3 separate regions of the Homo sapiens genome follow, and regions 1 and 3 are each linked to region 2. Evidence: promoter capture Hi-C in 16 types of primary human blood cells and fetal thymus (Javierre and others, 2016). All regions are on one chromosome and are shown on one strand. Each heading gives the region's core, a stretch centred on a gene start or on the middle of the fragment in contact. The rest is flanking DNA. Distances are from core to core; before and after follow the strand shown.

The links. The method cuts DNA at HindIII sites, captures the fragments that hold promoters and counts their contacts. A CHiCAGO score of 5 or more calls a contact.
Region 1: a contact is called between a fragment that was not itself captured here and the fragment with the promoter of CFAP45 in region 2, in 17 of 17 cell types (naive CD8 T cells, total CD4 T cells, total CD8 T cells and 14 more). The highest score is 15.4, in naive CD8 T cells.
Region 3: a contact is called between a fragment that was not itself captured here and the fragment with the promoter of CFAP45 in region 2, in 12 of 17 cell types (naive CD8 T cells, naive CD4 T cells, non-activated CD4 T cells and 9 more). The highest score is 9.7, in naive CD8 T cells.

The regions. Positions count from the first base shown.
Region 1 is chr1:159,786,356-159,791,233 of GRCh38, forward strand. No RefSeq gene overlaps it. Among named protein-coding and RNA genes, the nearest start is that of DUSP23, 7.8 kb to the left of the region's middle. RefSeq lists a cis regulatory region at 3,936-4,313. The HindIII fragment of the contact is 7,543 bases long and covers 1-4,878 here.
Region 2 is chr1:159,898,635-159,903,225 of GRCh38, forward strand. It overlaps CFAP45 (cilia and flagella associated protein 45), which reads right to left and starts at 1,531. Exons shown (of 12, transcript NM_012337.3): 1 at 1,462-1,531. The coding sequence starts at 1,464. MIR4259 (microRNA 4259) reads right to left here and starts at 1,445; the gene lies at 1,345-1,445. LOC124904435 (a long non-coding RNA gene) reads left to right here and starts at 1,616. Exons shown (of 3, transcript XR_007066679.1): 1 at 1,616-2,179; 2 at 4,153-4,290. The HindIII fragment of the contact is 6,665 bases long and covers 1-3,674 here.
Region 3 is chr1:159,802,683-159,807,547 of GRCh38, forward strand. FCRL6 (Fc receptor like 6) reads left to right here. Exons shown (of 10, transcript NM_001004310.3): 2 at 3,914-3,934. It overlaps LOC105371464 (a long non-coding RNA gene), which reads right to left and starts at 4,348. Exons shown (of 3, transcript XR_922195.2): 1 at 1-4,348. The HindIII fragment of the contact is 3,499 bases long and covers 1,650-4,865 here.

The sequences.
Region 1 (4,878 bases), core at 2,012-4,511, 110 kb before region 2:
GAACAACGCTGCATCTGACACTCACTTCAATAGCACCTGAATTATGTGCTTCTCCTTAAAATGTGGCCCAGTGACATTTTGGGCTGGATGATAAAAAATAAAAATAAATTAAAAATGTGGCCCGAGTATTTAAGAGCAAAATATTGACACTGATTTATCAGGGTGGTTCTCTCACATCCACTATTATCTAATTCAAAGCAAACAGATATCCTTATCTGGCATGACAGTCTTAAGGCCTGTGTGTCTGGTATCAAGCCCTCAAAAATGTCTTTTTATGTCTGATGATTTACTGAAAACCCTAATACCCTTTCTGTTTTCTTGTTGCTTGAGCCCTTAATGCGTGCCAGGCACTGTGCCAAATGCTTTACAGACGTTATCTCATTCCATCCTCAAAAAAGAAAAGAAAAGAAAAAACAGAACAAAACAGAAAATACCCTGTGAACAAAGCATTACAATAACCAGTGCACAGATGGATAAACTGACCCAGAGAGTTTAGGTGATCTGCCCACAGTCACCGAGTTGAGCAGGATTCAAACTTTGGGCTGTCTAGCTGTAAACCGCCGGTTGCCTTCACTCTTGGGAGGAGAGAGAATAGACTTTGTTGTAATTAGAAAATATATAACAGCATCTCGTATTCCCCAGAATGGAGTCATCTGGACTCACAGGGCCATCAGTGGAGCTCTCCAATCACACAGCTTCCCCAGCACTGCTGCTCAATGTTCAGTGGCATAACTCTGACTTGGGAGCGTGCAGGCTGCCAGCACAGTCATCATCTCTAACAGGCTTCTGCCTCAAGCCTCCAACACCATCAAAAATATAATCCCCTGTTGACTTAGAAATAAATTACATAAGCACTTCTTCCATTACTTTAAAATTTTTCTCTGGCTATTATGGATTCGAGGCATGCTCTTGAGAAGTCAGCTTGTCCAAGCAAGCAGAAATTTAAGAAACACTTTGGTGCATGTCCATGCCTGAAATTGATGACTTATTTGCAACCTTGATAACAGAGTTTCTTGTGCCAATAAATTGCTTAAATTGCTTTGACAACTCTTTCACCCTATTTTTCCACTGACTTACTCTGTCACCACAGATATATAATCATGAAATAAATTAGTGATGTTTTCAATGTGTGGCATTCAGTATGGCAAACAGTTCTGGGATTATTTCCCTGCTAGCTTTTGTCAACAAAAAGAGTCAAACTCTAAAATATTTTAAGAGATTTACTCTGAGTCAAATATGAGTGACCATGGCCCGTGACACAGCCCTCAGGAGATCCTGAGAACATGTGCCCAAGGCGGTCAGGGTACAGCTTGGTTTTATACATTTTAGGGAGGCACAAGACATCAATCATCAAATGCATTTAAGAAATACATTGATTTGGTTCAGAAAGGTGGGACAACTCAAAGCAGGTGGGGAGGAGGCTTCCAGGCTACAGGTAAATTTAAACATTTTCTGATTGACAATTGGTTGAGTTTGTCTAAAGACCTGGGATCAATGGAAAGGAAATGTTCAGGTTAAGATAAAAGATTGTGGACCGGGCACAGTGGCTCACGCCTGTAATCCAGCACTTTGGGAGACCAAGGTGGGCGGATCACGAGGTCAGGAGTTGAAGACCAGCCTGGCCAACATGGCGAAACCCCGTCTCTACTAAAAATACAAAAATTAGCTGGGCGTGGTGGCATGTGCCTGTTATCCCAACTACTCGGGAGGCTGAGGCAGGAGAATTGTTTGAACATGGGAGGTGGAGGTTGCAGTGAACAGAGATGGCACCATTGCACTGCAGCCTGGGCAACAGGGTGAGACTCCGTCTCAGAAAAAAAAAAAAAAAGATAAAAGATTGTGGATACTAAGGTTCTTTTGAAATCTTATAGTGGCTGCTCTTAGAGATAATAGATGACAAATGGTTCCTATTCAGGCCTTTAAAACGTACTAGATTCTTACTTAATCTCTTCAGGATTGGGGGGCCTGGAAGAAAAAGATCTAGCTGTGTTAATAGAGATTCTTTACAGATGCACACGTCCCCCCACAAAGGACAGCTTTGCAAGACCATTTCAAAATATGGCAAAGAAACATGCTTTTGGGGTAAAATAGTTTGACCTTCTTCTTTGTCACATCATGTTATGCCAGAGTCACATTGGAAAGTAAGTCACAATATATAGGGTTAAATATAACCCATCTGATGAGAATTTGTGGTTTGAAGGTCATGAGTCCCCAGGCCCCTTAGATAGGAATTTGGGCAAGATAAAAAAAAATCAGAGCTCAGTCCTCACTTTTTAAATTATTATTGTTTTTATTTTTCTTTTTTGAGATGAAGTCTCACCCTGTCGCCCAGGCCGGAGTGCAGTGGCACAATCTTGGCTCACTGCAACATCCGCCTCCTGGGTTCAAGTGATTCTCCTGGCTCAGCCTCCCGAGTAGCTGGGACTACAGGCACCCACCACCACGCCCAGCTAATTTTTTGTATTTTTAGTAGAGATGGGGTTTCACCGTGTTAGCCAGGATGATCTTGATCTCCTGACCTCATGATCCGCCTGCCTCAGCCTCCCAAAGTGCTGGGATTACAGGCGTGAACCACCGCACCTGGCCAGTCCTCACTTTTACAGTAAACACACCAATGAATCTTCTTTAATAATATACATTGAGCGTTAGCGACTCTACTCCAAACTCAAAGGGACCCCATGGGAAACATTAATCCATGCACCATCCCACAGGTGACACCACTTATCTTCTTCACTAGATTTTGTGTGCCCTTGGGCTCCCCCACCCCAGTGAAATTCACTGATTTGCATGTTTTCCATAGGTACACTTCCTGAGATCTAGCTGGGGCTGGGTGCAGCCTAGAGCCATGGAATAGAATTAAAGTAGCCACACTGGTATCAAGCCTACAGGCAGAACCATGCCGTTCTTGACCACGACCTGTAAGGACCTAAGGAATCCAATCATTTTCTTCATCTCCTTCCTCACCTTATATACTCCTCTCTCCCACAGGCTTTGTTCTCTTCTCTCTGCCTGTGTTGGTGGTCTGCAGAACCACTCTCAGGTTGGATGTTTTGCTAGAAGGACTCACAGAACTCAAAAAAGCTATTATACTCTTTTCTTTCCTCTCAAAATATTACCCTGTCTTGATATACTCTCGATTATAGTATATTACAATGAAAGGAAGTGGGTTAAAATCAACAAAAAAGAAACGTACGGGCTGGGTACAGTGGCTCACACCTGTAATCCCAGCACTTTGGGAGGCTGAGGCAGGTGGATCACGAGGTCAGGAGATCGAGACCATCCTGGCTAACACGGTGAAACCCCATCTCTACTAAAAATATAAAAACATTAGCCAGGGTGGTGGCACATGCCTATAGTCCCAGCTACTCGGGAGGCTGAGGCAGGAGAATCTCTTGAACCCCTGAGGTGGAGGTTGCAGTGAGCCAAGATCACACCACTGCACTACTGCCCTCCTGCCTGGGCGACAGAGCGAGACTCCGTCTCAAAAAAAGAAAGAAAGAAAGGTACATACAGCAGAGTTCAGAGGAAACTAGGCACAAGCCTCCAGTTGTCCTTTCCCAGTAAAGTCACATGGACAGTGCTTAATTCTTCCAGCAACAATGTATGACAGCACATACAAAATATGGCCAACCAAGGATGTTCACCTGAGCCTTGATGTCCAGCATTTGTTTTTAGTTTAGTTTAGTTTAGTTTATTTAGTTTAGTTTAGTTTAGTTTTGTTTTGTTGAGGTAGCAGGGGGTCAGTCACGTAGACATGCAGCATTCACATAACTCAGTCTCCAGCCCCAACACAGGTCAGACTGAAACAATATGGCCCGAAGCAGCCTAGGCATATACAAACAGGTGCTCACCATAAGTCACATTGTTAGCAGAAATCATCTGGCCTGGCTCATGGTCTCAGGTATACAAAGACACTCTTACCATGCAGGATATTTCAAGAATTCAGAGGTCTCAGAAGCTAATCAAGGGCAGTCTCAACGACCCTTGGAATGTGCAGGGTTTGGGCAATCCAGGCCTGCTGAGTTGATCTTTTACTGCACACTACTCCACACTACTTTTCCTGCACACTTTTTGTGCCCTCTCCACGTGACAGCCTGGGCAGGTGGGATGCTTTGCTCACCAGCTCTTTGCCTAGCTCCTAACTCCTACTGACCCCTACTGGTCATAGTTTAAACATCACTTTTTCAGGAAAAGGTTTCCAACAGGCCCCCATGTATTCCCAAAGTATCTGTCCTACCTTGAGGCCCTTTGCTCACCAATAATAATTCATTTAGTCATTTGATGTTACTCTGTATGCTGCTACAGTCTAAGGACCATGTGCATACCTCTAGCACAGTACAATGCCTGGCACATCAATATTCAATACTCAATAAACAGATGATGACTGACTAACTGATGTGCTGTCACTTACCTGGGTATCTGCACATAGGTGAATAAATGGGAAGAAAATAATAAATCTAGGGAATGGATAATCTAGTGGAGGAATACATGACATATGTACCCTCCTAAGTGTAAATGCAAAGTTGGATACAATTAGCCAATATGCAATGCATAAATACTTAAGCAATGGGATAGTGATTAAAGAGATAAGAGGAGTGAAATTCAAAAAGTTGAACCTTCAAAGAGATGTGGAGAGTGAGGTTGGATAGCCTAAGGGATACACAAATGCTGGATGTTATTAAAAATACCAATGTTATGTGTTGGGTGCAGAGTCCATATGGGGAGCCTTAGACAGAGGGAAGAATAGGACAAATAAGTATCAGTGAGGGGAGGAAATAATATGGGGAGTCAACTGGCATAGATGAAGTACAAACCTCATCCAGTGGGTAGCAGGAAATGCATGGTTAGGTGAAGATAGTGAAAGGGCAGCAAAAACTC
Region 2 (4,591 bases), core at 281-2,780:
GGTCTTGCCCAGGTGCAACTTATGCCCTATGAGAGCTTGGAAATAGGAAATTTTTAAAAGAGGACAAAAGGGGAACTAACATTTACCATATGCCCTTAGACACCAGGCATGACAGTAGGTGTTCACATACATACATACGCCACTGTGTTTGTAAGGTGCTGAGAGAAGATGGGACACTGAATCAAATAGAATACATAAGTGAAAGGGGACGCTCCCCCACCCCAATTACAACACTGCAGGGAGTCCTCGAAAGTCAGGAACTGCTCTTTGTTGGAGACTTATTTAATAATTAACAAAATTCTTCTGAGGTCCACTGAGCCCCAGAAAAGCAATGCAGCCCCTGGGCCTGAAGTCTGTCCACAAGTACATCCAAGTAGCAACCTTTGCCACCTGTTGTGCCCCAGACATTCTAGGTCAGTTCCAATAACCCAAGACTCCAACACTTATCATCTGCCCTTCCCCTCCCCTCTGGGACCAACACACTCAAGCCCAGGCATCCCCTTCATGGTTCCTCCCAGGCTTTGCTGGCCTTCTCAGCCCTCAGTACCCTGACAGCCCTCCCCATCCCAGCAAACCCCAGGCTGCCAGTCCTGTCCCAATCTCTCTCCCGGGCCTTGCAAACCTGAGACCCTCCTCACTCACTCACTCATTTATTCATTCATTCATTCACTGCCAAATATTTATTGACTAACTACTGAGGGATACAAAGCCCTGCTAACAGAAGAAAAACCTGAGGCTCGGGCACATTAGATGACTTACCCACAGTCACCTTGCTAGTTAGTGGCAAAACAGGTACCACGACCCATTATCTGGCCTCCTCACCAGTGCTTTTTTTTTTTTTTTTTTTTTTTGAGACGGAGTCTCGCTGTGTCGCCCAGGCTGGAGTGCAGTGGCGCGATCTCGGCTCACTGCAAGCTCCGCCTCCCGGGTTCACGCCATTCTCCTGCCTCAGCCTCCCGAGTAGCTGGGACTACAGGCGCCCGCCACCACGCCCGGCTAATTTTTTGTATTTTTAGTAGAGGCGGGGTTTCACTGTGTTAGCCAGGATGGTCTCGATCTCCTGACCTCATGATCCGCCCGCCTCTGCCTCCCAAAGTGCTGGGATTACAGGCGTAAGCCACCGCGCCCGGCCCACCAGTGCTTTTTCCCACACCACATCCACAATCTTTGGTCCACAGAGGCCCCGCTGTAATGGCAACGGGGAGAGGGTTGGGGCATCCCTTTCTCCCCAACTCCTCCGCTCAGCGCGCTCCACATTTCCAATCGTTATCGATGCTATCCCTAATTCCTCTTTTGAACCCACCTCAGGATCTCCCTTGCTTCTTCTAGAGGTGTTCTCCTTACTCCTGGGCCCTCCTGACCCCTAGACCCAACTGTGACCTCCCCTAGGCCCCCACTTTCCCCACTCAGAGCCCCCACCCAATTCAGGACACAAGGGGCCCATCTGAGGTTCTCCCTCACCATCTCCTCAGCCACACGCCCTGACTCCGGACTTCTGCTGCCGCCTCGGCGCCGCCAAGGCCCTAGTGTTGACGCGTTACCTTGGCAACCACTAGCCCGCGTTCTTCGGCTCAGGCCCCGCCCCCGGCCCCGCCCCTCCCACCTCCAGCGGGCAGTTGCCTTGTGCTGGTGGCTTAGGAACCGGAGCCCGTCGCTCCAACCGTTGCAGCTCCACGCTCCAGCCCAACCGCGGCTCTGAAGGATTGACCCGCCCTGGCGTGCCCTGCTCTCCACTTTGGCTTTGGCCAAACTTTTCGGTCAGAACCCGAACCTAAAGAACTTACTATGGGCCGAGGGGGTTCTAACTGTCAGCGGCCCCAGGAGCCTGGCCCAGGGTCACAGTTTTCCCCTGGGACTTCACCTAGGTTGCTATGATTACTCTTGCCCCATTGCCCAGGAGGCGCCAAGCCAACCCCTGATGAGTGTAGTCTGCAGAGAAGCCAGCAGGATCAGGACAAACCAGTTCCACAGCAGGAGAGAATCTGGTCGGGTCAACAAAGAACTTCCAGCCCTGAGGATGTCTATGCAGTCTCAAGAGCAGTTTCTTAAATTGCGGGCCTCAAATCTGCAGCTAAGAATCACCTGGGAGAGTTTATTAAAAATGGAGGCCCTACATTAGAATAAGTCAAAAGCTAAGGAACTGACTTTGGGGAGCTTGTCTTTTAACACTTCCTAGCTGGTATGTATTGTTCTAGAAAGTACATAGGGGTTTTGTCATTTTTTCCAATTTGGTTTGGCCTCTCTACCTCCCAACTTGCAGGGCTGGCACTGAGCTCACTTTGGTAGGCTGCATGCTCCAAGCCTCACGAAGCTGTCCCACCAGACCAAGGACATTTGTCTTCCTCCAGTGCTGATTAGCTGATTAGCTAAGCTCTTGGTGTGACTCTGTGAGTCTCTGAGCTGCTTTCTCAAACCTCTCTCCAAACCCTCACAGCCAGTCTTTCTGAAGCTCTTACTCCAACTTGGGCACTGAAGGCTATTCACAAGCCCCGGGGGAATGGAAAGAGGGAGACAAGGTCACTTCTTGCTGCTTTTAAAAGGACTTACTCCAACAGGCTTCACATTCCTTCCCTAGATTTCCCAGCCTTTATCTCCTTTGGGATCAAGAGTACAAAATTGTGTCCCCTGCCCAGTCCCACCAAGTGTTGAAGGCTTAATCAGAGGGAGAAGGGAAGGCCTGAAGAGGAGGAGCACAGTCCCTGGGAGGCTTGGGACTGAGAGAAGGGGCTGTTTTGTTCGTGGGAACCTTCCTTACTAAGCCTTGGCATTAGAACCCCGTTCCCTGCAGCTCAGAAAGAAGGGAAGACAAGTAACCGGCCCACTGTGAATAAGGTGCTTCCTGTATTCACCCCATTCTCCCAGGCACATCTGCATGACATAGTTACTATCCGTGTAACCAAAGAGGAAACAAGCCAAGAAAAAACTGTCCAAATTGAAAATCTATTCTTTTCTCAGCCCAGGGTAACTCTCTGAAGAAAAGGTGCAAAGTTGAGGCAGAAAGGGCTGGGCGCGGTGGCTCATGCCTGTAATCCCAGCACTTTGGGAGGCCAAGGTGGGCAGATCACGAGGTCAGGAGTTCGAGACCAGCCTGGCCGACATAGTGAAACCCCGTCTCTACTAAAAATACAAAAAATTAGCCGGGGGTGGTGGCAGGCACCTGTAATCCCAGCTACTCAGGAGGCTCAGGCAGGAGAATCACTTGAAGCCAGGAGGGGGAGATTGCAGTGAGCCAAGATCACTCCAGCCCAGGCAACAATGCAAGACTCTGTCTCAAAGAAAAATTAAAAAAGTTATGGCAGGAAGGAGGGAATGACAGAGTGCAGTGTAAGGGACTTGCCTCCCAGCAGGCAATTACATGCCTGTAATCCCAGTACTTTGGGAGCCCAAGGCAGGAGGATTGCTTACATCCAGGAGTTTGAGACCAGCCTGGGCAACATAGGGAGATCCCATCTCTACAAAAAATCAAAAATTAGCCAGGCATAGTGGTACATGCCAGTGGTCCCAGCTACTTGGGAGGCTGCACTAGGAGGGTCACTTGAGCCTCGGAGGTTGAGGCTGCTCTGAGCCATGATCGTGCCAATGCACCCAGCCTGGGTGACAAGAGTGAGACCCTGTCTTGAAAAATAAAATAAATAAAATACAATAAAAATTTATCTCAAAGCTAACAATGCTTAAGCTTCAGGCCTCTCATTTACGTAAGCACATGTCAAGGCTCAGAGAAGAACCCTTGGCCATGTGTCTACAGGCATACCTTGGAGATACTGCAGATTAGGCTTCAGAGCACTGCAATAAAACTAATATCACAATACAATGTGAGCAACACAAATTATTTGGTTTCCCAGTGCATAGGAAAGTTACATTTGCACTATACTGTAGTCTATCAGGTGTGCAATGGCATTATGTCTAAAAAAATGTGCATACCTTAATTTAAATATACTTTGTTGCTAAAAAGTGCTAACAATCATCTGAGTCTTCAGAGAGAGTCATCATCTTTCTGCTGGTGGAGGGTCTTGCCTCAGTGTTAATGGCTGCTAACTGATGAGGGTAGCACTTGCTGAAAGCAGAGGTGGCTGCAGCAGTTTCTTACAATATGACAACAGTGAAGGTTGCCACATCAGTTGACTCTTCCTTTCTTTTTTATTTTTTTTTCAGATGGAGTTTCACTCTTGTTGCCCAAGCTGAAGTGCAATGATGCGATCTCGGCTTACTGCAACCTCTGCCTCTCGGGTTCAAGATATTCTTCTGCCTCAGCCTCCAGAGTAGCTGGGATTAGGTGCACCACCACACCAAGTTAGTTTTGTATTTGTTTGTTTGTTTTTGAGACGGAGTTTTGCTCTTGTTGCCCAGGCTGGAGTGCAATGGCACAATCTCCGCTCACTACAACCTCTGCCTCCCGGGTTCAAGAGATTCTCCTGCCTCAGCCTCCCAAGTAGCTGGGATTACAGGCATGCAGCACCACGCCCAGCTAATTTTGTGTTTTTAGTAGAGACCGGGTTTCTCCATGTTGGTCAGGCTGGTCTCAAACTCCCAACCTCAGGTGATCCGCCCGCCTCCGCCTCCCAAAGTTCTGGGATTACAAGCGTGAGCCACG
Region 3 (4,865 bases), core at 2,149-4,648, 94 kb before region 2:
TGATATGTCAGAGATAAATTAGGGAGGCAGAAAATCACATTACAAAGTCCCCTAACTTCCCAATGACATTTCTACCTTGTGACATCAGGTTAAAATACTAATCAGAGCTGTCTCAAAAGGAAATGGAGGTTGCAGGAGGGAAGGAGGCTGCTGGGGGCAACAGGGAAGGAGTCAGGGAAATGAGGGGAAACAGTCCCAGGCATTTTGCTCAGCAATGGGAGGTGGAATTTTACAGGGTGACATATTTTTATGGAGCCTCAGCATTTTCTTAGAACCAGGTAACAATGGCCAGACCTCTCACCTGGTTGAAAGGCCTGTGCTCTGAGTAACCAAAGCCCTTTTCAAATTGACTGTCTCTCTTCCGCCTACATCTTCTCTCTGTTGGGAGCTGTTTCAGATCCATGGGGCTGGTTTGAAGAATCAACTCCATTGTCTGATCCATGTCTCTCTCTCTCTTCTCTCCATTTCTTCTCATGCAGGCTACTTGTAACTAAGAGAGCTGGTCTAAGGGTAGAGGATTGCACGCAGAGGGTCACTGGGCTCCCCCAGACCCAGCTCAGTCTCAGCCAGTGTCACCCCCCTTATACCTAAAAGAAATAATTTGGCATATATTTTGTTTCACTTTACAGTTTCCAAGTGGACCTACTTTTTGTTTAATTCTTGGTCCCAATAGCTTGCTTGCTATTTGTATTCCTTGAACTAGAAAAGCAAAACTGTTCCTAAATATAACCTCTTCCTGGACAGAGTTTGTGAGAATTTGACCCTGTGAGGAAAATGCCCCTTCCACTCAATGTTCCTTCTCCAGCATAGCATGCTACTCGTGTGTTCTATGAATGGCCATTTGGACAAATGAAAAGGTCTAATGCTCACACTGAGGCGGGGACAGGATAGCCTAATGCCTGGATATACTCCAGGCAGAAGACTCCCAGGGGCAAATGGCACTACCGGCACTACCTTGTAAAAGGAACAGCCCTTGGACTTGTCTAGATACAGTCTGAGAGTGTTCCAGCTTGGAACCCAGGACGAGGATGACAGACAGCAAATGAGGAGAGGAAGGGAATCAGTGACCGGCTGACTGGTGCACAGTGTAATGGAGAATCCAGCACCAGCAAATTTGGTCCCACTTGATGCTCAGGGACCCTGGAAAAACAGCCTAAAACACAGACACTGGGGCTGGGTGTGTAGCAACATTTATCTTACCATAAGTGTAGAGCTGCTATTTCCTCTCTCAAGAGCAGGGTGTGGTCATAATAAATTGGTGGCTATTACTATTATTGGCTGTCAGGGCTCCGGGAGGAAAGGAATCCTGACATTGAGCATGTGGGGACCTGGCTGAATGTGAAATATGTATTTAAAGTTTGGGAAATTAGGCTTAATTTTCTTCTGAGCTGAACATTAGCCAACTTCCCTCCTACCACTGGAGGCTGCTCCCCGCATTCTCACACAGCGTCCATAGGAGGTGTCATGGGGTCCCATACAGCCCTCCCAGCAATGTGACTGCTGCAGCTTGGCACTGCAGCCTGTTCCACAGTGCTAGAGCTCAGTGGTGAGAGAGTTCTTCATGTTGAGCCGAAATCTGCCTCCATGATCCCTCTAGTTTCCATTTCTGTCCTATAAAGTAACTCAGAATAAGTCTCCCCCTTCTTTTAAGCTTAGCCCACCAAGTATTTTGTGTCTTTCCTCTGTTGCATCTTTCCCAGATAAATATCTCCCGATCCCTCAGAAACTTTAAGAGGAAATTATCCTGCTCCTAGAGTTGGCAGGGGCTCCTGCCTTCATTTTTCGGAATTCTATTACGCAACTTGGTTTGACCATAGCTCTTGGCCACTTCATGATACTGTCACCTCATCTTCAGCCTATAGCTAATGGAGGTCCCTGGGCCCTCATTGCAGGAACTGCTGTAAGCAGGTGTCACCCCCTGTGTATGTTCCCAGTTGGCTGCTGTTTTGATTGCAGAAACCAATTTTGTAATCCCACCTCCAAGATCTTGCAGTACCATGGGGAGCAAGTCATTGAGATTTGGGGACAGGAGCTCATTTTAAGTGCATCTATGCTTCCTGAGTGCCTTCTGTCTTGTTTTTGGCTTCAGTAGTCTCAACCCTGTTTGTTTAGCACTTTGTAGCTGCACAATTGTTTTCCAGTGAGGTGGGGAAGGGAAGGAAGACATAACTACAGAGTAAGGTCTCTGTCACTCTGAGGTCAGGCCTTCTTTCTGCTTTCAGTTAATGTAGTAACCACTTTCCCAGGCAGTGGGTCAACATAACCTTCACAACTACACTGTAAGAAAAAAATGACTATTATCATTTCTATTATGTGATATGACAGAATGAGATATTGAAGGCTCTTGGAACTTAGACAACTTGTTCAAGGTCGTACAGAAAGAGGCAAATTCATGACTCAAGTCCAGGTCATCTGATTCCAAATCCTGCATGCTTTCCACTACACCGAGCTCATAGATGGGGGTTAGGGGTGGAGATGGAGGGATGATAAAGAAGAGACTCATTGTTCTGCACACTCTTGAGAGCATATGACTGAGCTGACCCTGAGCTGAATAGAGAATTGAGCTGAAAGATTCCACCTGTGTCCAAAGTAGTGTAGAAAGCAAAGATGATACCATGTGACAGAGCCAAACATCTGCTCTTAGAGGGTTTTCACCCACCCTTCCCAAGGCCATTCTTGCATTTTTTTTTTGGTGTTATGTAAAATACCTAGGACATGCCAGCAATGCAGGACACAAGTAAATGTATGAGGATTGGCTGGACTGACTGCACTCAGCCCTACATTCATTCATTGTTTCACACCTTGCCCCAAAGTCCAGAAGATTCTTCACTGCTTCATATCCAGCTATGACCTTCAATTTCAGGTCTTCCATTGTTTGGGCTATTCAAACCTATCTAACCATATCTGTCATCATTTTGTGAGTTGGCCCCTCTTCCCAGGTCACCTGTTCTCACACATTCACTCATTTAAAAACATGAATGTAGCACATCCAAGATGCAAGCATGATGTGGGATGCATCCAGTTTGTTTGTAGTTCTCTCATTCATCCATGCTGCCTGATAATGTCTCACATCCTTTAATGATTACTCTTTCAGGGGACTTATCCTCCTCAGTCTGGTCACTTCCATACCCTTTTTGCCAGAGCTCTGTGGAGAGATGGGACCACAAGAATCAGGTCCTGCCCTTGCTATATGGGTTCTCCTGTAGATGTTGGAGGTAGGACCCTCAGGCACATTCGTACAAGAGTCTAGTCCTATGTTTTCTACTTTTTGCTTCCCACCTCGTACAATGGGATGCAAAGGAAAACATTCATGCATTTATTCAGCAGATGCTTACTGAACACAGACTATGTTCCAGGCACAGGTCTTGGGCATAGAAAATATAGCAATGAGTAAAATAAGCAGAGTCCCTGCTACTATGGAGCTTATATTCTAGCCAGAGAGAGAGGTGATAACATGTAGGCAATTTAATGAATAAGATAAATTCAAATAGTGATAAGTGTTTTGAAGATAATACAATGGGGCATTGTTTTAGTGATTGGGGAAAATTCTTTTGATTGGAGTCCCAGGGAAGACCTGTTTGAGAAGGCAACATTTGAACTGTGATAGGGCAAAGAGTTCTAGGGAGTACGTCCAGCACAAACGTTGAGTAGTCAAGTGGCCGGGTGGTTGGGTGGTTGGGTGGTTGGATGGTTGGATGGTTGGGTGGTTGGATGGCTGATGGCTGGGTTGTTTGGTGGTTGAGTGGTTATGTGGTTGGATGGTTGGATGGCTGTGTGGATGGGTGGCTAGGAGGTTTGGTGGCCGGGTGGTTGGTTGAATGGGTGTAAGTCCCCATTGCTGAAGTGACAGGCCTCCTTGTCAGAAAGCTCTTTTTGCTACTTAACCTAATTGTGTTACTTTGTTCTCTTGCAGTTCCCTGTGTTGGGAAAACTGGTAAGTTGTGTCCATGTCTCTTCTAATTCAAAGTATGTCTATGGGCCAAAACTTACTGGATGGGAACAGGACAGTGCCATGGGGTCCCCCAGAAACATCTGCAGAGCAGCACCAGACTAGGCCCCTTCCTCAGGAGTCTTGGCCAGTTCCTAGGAAAAGGAGGAACTTGGAACTCCACTAGTCTAAGGCCAAGGGTAGTCCTAGGGTGACACAAGCCTCAGCAGTGGGACTCTAGGCCTCTATCTTATACCCTTAAAAGTGTCTGTGGCCTCTGTCTTCTCTTCAAGTGGTTCTGGAGCTCTTATATTCTCAACTCAACAAGACTGGGACTCCCTTCCTTCCTTTTATGTTCAGAGAAGCAGCAGGCACCTTTTTCTGCTGATCAGTCTTCCTTCCTTCCTCAGATCCCCTTCCCTCCAGCCCATTCTGTGACACTGACCTCCATGGAGCTTTCTGTCAAACAGGAAAAAATTCTGATCTATGAAATCTTGACCTCCAAGGACATATTCTGTGATTCCAGGGGGAGATAATTCAAACCAATACTTAGTGCTGTTAGAAAAAGCAGTAGTGGAAGCAAGACCTGCTGTTCGGTAATGCGGTGAGCATCGTTACTTCCAGGGTGAGGAGAGTGGGTCCTAAGGATCCAGAAGATCCAGGCAAGAGCAGGATGTGCTGGGGCTCCCTAACTGTTACTCCTCATTAGTCTCAGGCCATCAGGCCTGCTCAGAAGGCTGTCTGGGAATGGGGGTGTCTGGCTTATCAAAGAGATGATACAGGCTGGGGACAGATACAGGCTGGGGACAGATACAGACTGGGGACAGGCTCAGCCTGCCCTGCAGGTGATGGTGGATCCCTGGGAGCTCTTCTCCTGCTCACATCAGTGCACAGAATACATTTTAGGAATAGAGACAGAGAGAACAGATCCCTTCCA